2 separate regions of the Homo sapiens genome follow, and region 1 is linked to region 2. Evidence: promoter capture Hi-C in human tissues and cell types (Jung and others, 2019). All regions are on one chromosome and are shown on one strand. The core of a region is centred on a gene start or on the middle of the fragment in contact, and the rest is flanking DNA. Distances in the headings are between cores, read along the strand shown. Region 1 overlaps CEP250 (centrosomal protein 250). Region 2 holds the start of RBM39 (RNA binding motif protein 39).

Region 1 (3,776 bases), core at 67-2,566, 270 kb before region 2:
AGACTAGGAAATGCTTTATGGAGGAGAGAGTAGACTTTGAGCTGGGCCTTTACCTATTTGGTTAGCAGAGAGTGGGAGAAGAGCTCAAGGAACAGATTAGCAAAGAAAAGGCGGCAGGAAGGTTCATGGCATGTTCAGAGTAGGCTGGGCTGGCTAAAGGGTAAGACTTATACAGGGAAGTAGTGGGAAATGTGCTAGCTGGTCAAGAAAGGGAAATCCAGAATCAATGGCCCCAGCTAATCTGTAAATTCCCCTATATGATGTCACAGAAAAAGCAAGGACTTTGAGCTAGGCAGAAGCTTAGTTTAAATTATGGCTCTGTCACATGGACAGATTATTTGTAGAATGATGATAATATTTACCTTGAAGGGTTGCTGGGAAGATGAGAGCAATGTTTTGGAAAACGCCAGCATAGAACCTGGCATATGGTAGGTCTTTAATAACTGGGAGCAGGGATATATCTTCATCTTTGCTGTATTTCCCTCCTCTCCTGTGCCCCAGTTCCTTGTACCTGGTAGGCATGAATAGTGGAAGCTTGAAGGGCTGCCATAAGGGTCATGACTTGTGCTAAGAATGATCTCCCTGTACCAAGGAGAAGGGCAGACAACCCCTAACAACAAAAAATTAGCTGTAGCTGAATGTGGTGGCATGTGCCTGTAGCCATGGCAAGGTGAGATGGGAGGATCACATGAGCCCCCAGGAGTTTGAGGCTTCAGTGAGCTAAGAAGATACACAGAGAAGTCTCACTCTCATTTGTGCTTTCTCCATCCCATTTCCCTTCCCCCTTTAGGCAACCATTTTAGCTGACTTCTTGTTTATCTTGCCAGTGCTCCTTCATGCAAATACGGGCATATATTCTTTCTTCCCCCACTTTCTTGCATAAAAGGTAGTGTATCATGTATATACTGTTCTGCACCTTGATTTTTTTCACTTGACATGTCTTAGAAATCTTTCCTTATCAGTGTTTATAGACCATCCTCATTCTGTTGCATAGCAAAGGTGATTATATTCCTGTTACCTTTGGGGTTATGGCCCATCCCTAAGAGTTCCTCTAGACCCCTCTCTTTCCCATCTTAGTCAGGAGATGCTGATGGGCCTGGAAGCCAAACAGTCAGAATCACTCAGTGAACTGATCACTCTTCGGGAAGCCCTGGAGTCAAGTCACCTGGAAGGGGAGTTACTGAGGCAAGAGCAAACGGAAGTGACCGCAGCGCTGGCTAGGGTGCGTGGCCTCCTCTCCTCACTTGCTGGGTGGGCGGCTTCGAAAGTGTGTTCCCATGCAGCCTGCCTCATTCTTCACCTTCAAGCCAGGATCCCTCATCTTTCCTCAATCATTAGTCTGCTTCTGGGTTCTCTATTCCAACATACCCTCTATATTGGAATTAGAATGGGCTTTCTAAAGTATATACCTGGTTATGTCAGTCTCTTAAAACCATTCAACGGCTTTCTAGCTCTGTGGTGCCACATTCAAAGCTTTTTGTCATGTGCCTCAAAGTGTGTTTTAGCCTCCCCTTCTACTGCAAAACCCATCCTAACACCTCATATCCTTTGCTCCTGCCACAGCAGTAATTGCCTTCTCAGTTATTCCATGTTCTTCATGACTCTAATACTCTGCGTGTACTTTTCCCTTTCTCTGCACTACTTCTTTCCTCTTCCTTTATGTGCAAACTGTTCCTCATCTCTCAGTACACAACTTAATCGTCAACTCCTCTACCAAGCATATTTGACTCTTCCAAACTATATTAATATTTTTTTTAGTTCCCAGAGCACTTTGTGCTTACATTTTCTGTGGCATCATTACAATCATAGTCATTTCTCTATCCTAACTTTGGTATCTCTATACTGTGAGGTCCTGTCTCACTCCTTAATGAATGAATGAAGGGAAAACTTGTTTAGAATGCAGGAGAGGGAATGGAGTATTAACTGATCTCTGTACCAAAAAGCAGCAGTGTTGGGAATGTGAACTGTTTACTGTTCCAGGAAAATTGGAAATATGAAACTCTTTAATCCTTTTTGTTTTTTAGGCAGAGCAGTCAATTGCAGAGCTGTCGAGTTCTGAAAACACCCTGAAGACAGAAGTAGCTGATCTTCGGGCTGCAGCTGTCAAGCTCAGTGCCTTAAATGAGGCTTTGGCGTTAGATAAAGTTGGGCTGAACCAGCAGCTTCTCCAGGTGAGCAAAGATTTTCCTGGTCCCCACAGAAGGGCTGGGCCCTAACTGAGAGCAAGACGGATCAGCTCCCAAATGTAGGTCTGAAATGAGCAAAAGGAACATTTACAATGCAGAGGAGAGCAAAGACTGTAAGGATTGGGCTTAGCCATTATAAATATTCCCCTCCCACACCTCCAGCAGAACCACCTCTGGACTTCAGGGTAAGACACCAAGGTTGGGAAGGGGCCCATGTCCTCTGGAAGGAAGACTAGGTTTTTTGCTGGGGTTTTCTTGAGATGGATCTCCCTCTGTCACCTAGGCTGGAGTGCAGTGGTGCGATCTTAGCTAACTGCAGTTTTCATCTCCTGGGTTCAAGCAATTCTCCTGCCTCAGCCTCCTGAGTAGCTGGGATTACAGGCATGTGTCACCACACCTGGCTAATTTTTTTTTTTTGAGATGGAGTTTTGCTCTTGTTGCCCAGGCTGGAGTACAGTGGCACGATCTTGGCTCGCTGCAACCTCTGCATCCCGGGTTCAAGCAATTCTCTTGCCTCAGCCTCCTGAATATCTGGGATTACAGGCATGCACCACCATGCCTGGCTAATTTTGTATTTTTAATAGAGACAGGGTTTTACAATGTTGGTCAGGCTGTTCTCAAACTCCTGACCTCAGGTGATCCACCTGCCTCAGCCTCCCAAAGTGCTAGGATTACAGGCGTGAGCCACCACACTTGGCTGCCCTGGGCTAGTTTTTGTATTTTTAGTAGAGATGGGGTTTCACCATGTTGGCCAGGCTGATCTTGAACTCCTGGCCTCAGGTGATCCATCCACCTCAGCCTCCTGAAGTCCTGGGATTACAGGCATGAGCCACCATACCCGGCCTAAGTCTAGGTTGTTAATCCTGTTGGGTGAGATAATAGCAATCACCAGAAAAGAATCTGCTGAAGAGCCTAAGTCCCAAAGAATCTTTTCTATAGGTTATAAATTTAACCTATAATTATAGCGAGGGAACCTCCTTGCAATCTCTGTTTCCTTGAGTGTTCTCTATTCCATTATTCTGAATTATTTGAGAGCAGGACTTTGCCTTGCATATCTCCGTCCCCAGCATCCAGCCCATCTAGTACCTGGAATATAGGCACTAGATCAAATGAATGGATTTTCCCCCATCTTATAAACACTCCTTTGTTCATCTTTGGAGAATAGATTCATATCTCACTTGGATTTCAGTCTTAGCATTTGATTCCTAAACTAACCATTTGTCTTTGATGCTTGTACTCCCTTCCCTTTTTGGCCAGTAGTTAGAGGAGGAGAACCAGTCTGTGTGCAGCAGAATGGAGGCCGCAGAGCAGGCGAGAAATGCTTTGCAGGTCGACCTGGCGGAGGCAGAGAAGAGGAGGGAAGCCCTGTGGGAAAAGAACACTCACCTGGAGGCTCAGCTGCAGAAAGCTGAGGAGGCTGGGGCTGAGCTGCAGGCAGATCTCAGGGACATCCAAGAAGAGAAGGAAGAAATTCAAAAGAAACTAAGTGAGGTGAGAAGCCAAAATGGACACCATCATGTCTAGGTGTAATATATGCTCATTATAAAAAATTAAAACACTACAGAAATTATCTGGAAAGTGAAAAAGTCT
Region 2 (3,653 bases), core at 569-3,068:
ATACCAAACTGGAGGTGGTAATTCTTAGTTGAGTCATTTTACCTAGGGGACCACGGTACAGCGATAAGTCACTCAATTACTACCTTATGATTGACAGTTCACACTGGAATCAAAGGTGAATTCATGGGAGTAGAGGTGAGATATCGTTAGGCAAGTCTACAAAGAGAGATAGATGGGCATTTATTCATCACGCTGAAGTGAAACTACTGCACAATATTATTACATCAATAGCATATATTTACTTTTGTAAGTTACACGTAATGCATCTCTGATAAGATAAATCAAGAGGGCTCCGGGGAGGTTAGTTTACATTTCAGCAGTAGTTTCGTGAATAATGCTAAATTAAGAAATATATAAACCTCACCGACATGTTTTTTCTCACCTTCTTGTAAGGAGCCTCAAGCATTGCTTCAATATCAATATCGTCTGCCATTTTCTCTAAACGCCTAGGAAGAGAACAAGACAATTTCTTGAGTAAACATTTCTCTTACAATGTGAAACAAGTTTCACTCTTGTTGCCTATATCGTCTAACATTTTCTCTAAACGCCTAGGAAAAGAACAAGACGATTCCGTGAGTAAACATTTTTCTTTTTTTTTTTTTTTTTTTTTGAGACGGAGTTTCGCTCTAGTTGCCCAGGCTGAAGTGCAGTAGCGCGATCTCGGCTCACTGCAAGCTCCGCCTCCCAGGTTCCAGCGATCCTACCACCTCACCTCCCGAATAGCTGGGATCACAGGCGCCTGCCACCACGCCCGGCTAATTTTTGTATTTTTGGTAGAGACGGGGTTTCACCATGTTGATGAGGTTGGTCTCGAACTCCTAACCTCAAGTGATCCGCCTGCCTCTGCCTCCCAAACTGCTGGGATTACAGGCGTGAGCCACCGCGCCCGGCCTGGTAAACGTTTTTCAAATCGACTGAATTTTTCTTCTCAGCCGACACACTCGAAAACTTAAGAAAAACCTCCAAAAGCCCTACAATTAATGACTAAAGTGACATGCACTTTAACCAGGTTTGGCTTACGTAAGTAAATCCAAAACGCCTCTTACACGAAACACACGAAAATGAAGACTTCAATATCCAATATTTAAAACTCTGCTGTCAACTCCAAAAACAGAAACTGGGAGACCCGAACGAGAGCGCCTCTTTCCGGGCAAAAACCCGCGCTGCCATTTTAGGGGCAAAGAGAAACTCCCTCCATTGGGAGGGGTTATGAGCCAAGGCAGCGTTCAACTGGCGCCATGTTGGGAGGTCGCGGCCGGCCCAGGCCTCGAAGGAGACAGGTCACCATTCTACCGCGGCCTCTCGGGGGTCCCTACCGCCCCAAGAATCCAGACTATACCCGACTGGAAAATAAGGGCGCGGTCACTGAAACAGGGCCGATTTCTCGAAAACCACCCCCCACCCCGGTCGCTAAAGACCTCCAAAAGCGCCCCTCAGCCCAAAATGGAGCCAAACCTCGAGAAAGCTGAGATAATACGCGGGTCCGCAACGCCCCGTACCTGTTCCGGCCTTCGGGCGCCTGTGGTGCTCGTGTTCGGGAAGAGATTGCTGCTGCTGCTGCTGCTGCTGCCGCCGCCGCCGCTTCTGTTGCTACTGTTAAGCCCCTAGGCCCAGGCCGCGGAACCGCCCAGCCCGAATATCGGGTTCCAAGGACGGCTAGGCCCGAGAGAATCTAAAAAAAACAATGGAATTAGAGAAGCCCACGCGGGAGAGCAGGACGGCGGCTTCGGCAGCTCAGGATCCACCCCTGCGACAGCGTCGACAAGCTCCCTGAAATGGCGGCCGCTGCTTCCCTGTACTCACATTCACCAGCACACATACACACACACAAACACACGGGGCCTCACAGAGCCCTCAGCACGGGCTCTCGCGAGAAGCTGCCCCAAGCTCCAAATTTGAGCGGCCGAAGTATCGCGAGACCTAAGTATGGCTCCGGCGACCGTAGCCCAATCTCGCGCAATGATTGCGCCACAGATATTCCCATCCCCCATTCAGTGAGGCGCCTTTCACTCCCCCTCCGCGTAAGCACCCAAATCTCGCGAGACAGAGCGGGTCTCTAGGGCAAAGACAGTTGGTAGGCTGCCTGTCAATCTTTCAGAGAGCTCTTCGCTGAGTGGAGCTCAGCGGTCACCTCCCCCTCGTGGCGCCTCCTCACGGCCATCTGAAGATTCCTCCGGCACAGCCGATCGCCCCCGCTCCGGCCTCCCACACAGATGGCTGTCAAGGTCGCCATAAGGCAACCTAGTCCTTATGGCGATAGGATAAAACGGCCATATTCAGATTATCCGCTGAGGGTGGAGAGGAAGTGGAAAAGTGTATCAGAAGGCCAGAAGAAGAGATCTTTAGGGGTAGGGGGAGAGGGGGAGATAATAAAAATAGATTTCCCTGTCATTTGGAGCCAATGGCGCGGCCTCCACTGTCGAGCTTTGAAACAACCTTGGAAATAGTGGAGAAAAGCAAAAAAAAGGTGGAAAAAATAAACTCTTGCTTCCCTTGGCATGGGATCAGTTTTGTGCCCCGAATTTAATCAGCTCTTGTGTCAGGGTTGCTACCGTTCCTTCAAAAATGTTCCCCTTCCTGAATATTACTGGACGATTTGGTGAAAAAATAAGACACCCCCCCAACAAAAAAAAAAAGGCCCCCTTCCCCCTGGGACCTGGCTCCTCTCCCCTGAAGTCTTCTAGATGCCAGGTAATTAGAGTATGAATTAGCCATTTGTTCTTTGGTCAGTACTGTGTGAGGTTTCCTCCTAGATGCTGGGAAAAAAAACTGGAAAGAAGTCTTCAAAGCAAAAATCTTACCCTCTAATCTTAACAGTCTAATGATTGAGGGCAGAAAAGATTGGAAATGAGACGCCTTGATTAGTGTAACTAGCTGCTGCAACACTGTGTGACCTTGGACAAGCAAATTAACCTCTCAGAGGGGATCTTTCATTTCCTGATTTAAAAGAGGACGTACTTAGTAGCTAGTCTAAGCTACTTGAGACTGAGGAAGGCAGGTAATGCTCAGTACTGAATTTTTAGAGGTTAGCAGGGCATGTCTGCCCAAGTGGACCCTCAGTAAATTAATGAATGAAGGCTCAGAAGGGCTATAGTGAAGATTAAATGATATAATGTCTGTAAAACGCCTGGTAAATATTTGATCTTCAAAACAGCTAACTTCTGTTTCTGCTAAACAAAATTATTTAGAGCAAATATAGATGTTAAGTGGTTTTGCCTCTCAGGTTAACTTTACACACAGGTTAGGATTTATCTTAGAGGATTATTAATAACAGTTATTTTGTAGTTAGAATACTCCCTTAATCCTTTTTCTGAAAATTCAGATCCTCTTTTTATTTTATTTCTGAGACAGTCTCGCTCTGGAGGCTGGGCGCAGTGGCTCATGCATCTAATCCCAGCACTTTGGGAGGCCGACGCGGGTGGACCGCCTGAGGTCAGGAGTTCAAGACCTGACCAACATGGCGAAACCCTGTCTCTACTAAAAATAAAAAAAAAACTAGGTGGCAGGCGCCTGCAATTCCCAGCTACTCGGGAGGCTGAGGCAGGAGAATCACTTGAACCTGGGAGGCAGAGGTTGCAGTGAGCTGAGATCATGCCATTGCACTCCAGCCTGGGTGACAGAGATCGAGACTCCATCTCAAAAAAAAAAGAAAG

What was found. Contacts are between HindIII fragments. The study calls those that stand out against the background at their distance.
Region 1: a contact is called between a fragment that was not itself captured here and the fragment with the promoter of RBM39 in region 2, in 1 of the 25 tissues and cell types used here (heart right ventricle).

Annotation. Positions count from the first base shown.
Region 1 is chr20:35,474,425-35,478,200 of GRCh38, forward strand. It overlaps CEP250 (centrosomal protein 250), which reads left to right. Exons shown (of 35, transcript NM_007186.6): 15 at 1,078-1,222; 16 at 2,025-2,171; 17 at 3,447-3,677. CEP250-AS1 (CEP250 antisense RNA 1) reads right to left here. Exons shown (of 3, transcript NR_184017.1): 3 at 1-2,251. Among named protein-coding and RNA genes, the nearest start is that of CEP250-AS1, 15 kb to the right of the region's middle. The HindIII fragment of the contact is 3,045 bases long and covers 1-2,839 here.
Region 2 is chr20:35,740,442-35,744,094 of GRCh38, forward strand. RBM39 (RNA binding motif protein 39) reads right to left here and starts at 1,819. Exons shown (of 17, transcript NM_184234.3): 1 at 1,500-1,819; 2 at 383-446. The coding sequence starts at 433. RefSeq lists a silencer at 1,199-1,298 and enhancers at 1,559-1,708, 1,722-2,407, 1,769-1,988, 2,159-2,258. The HindIII fragment of the contact is 31,582 bases long and covers 1-3,653 here.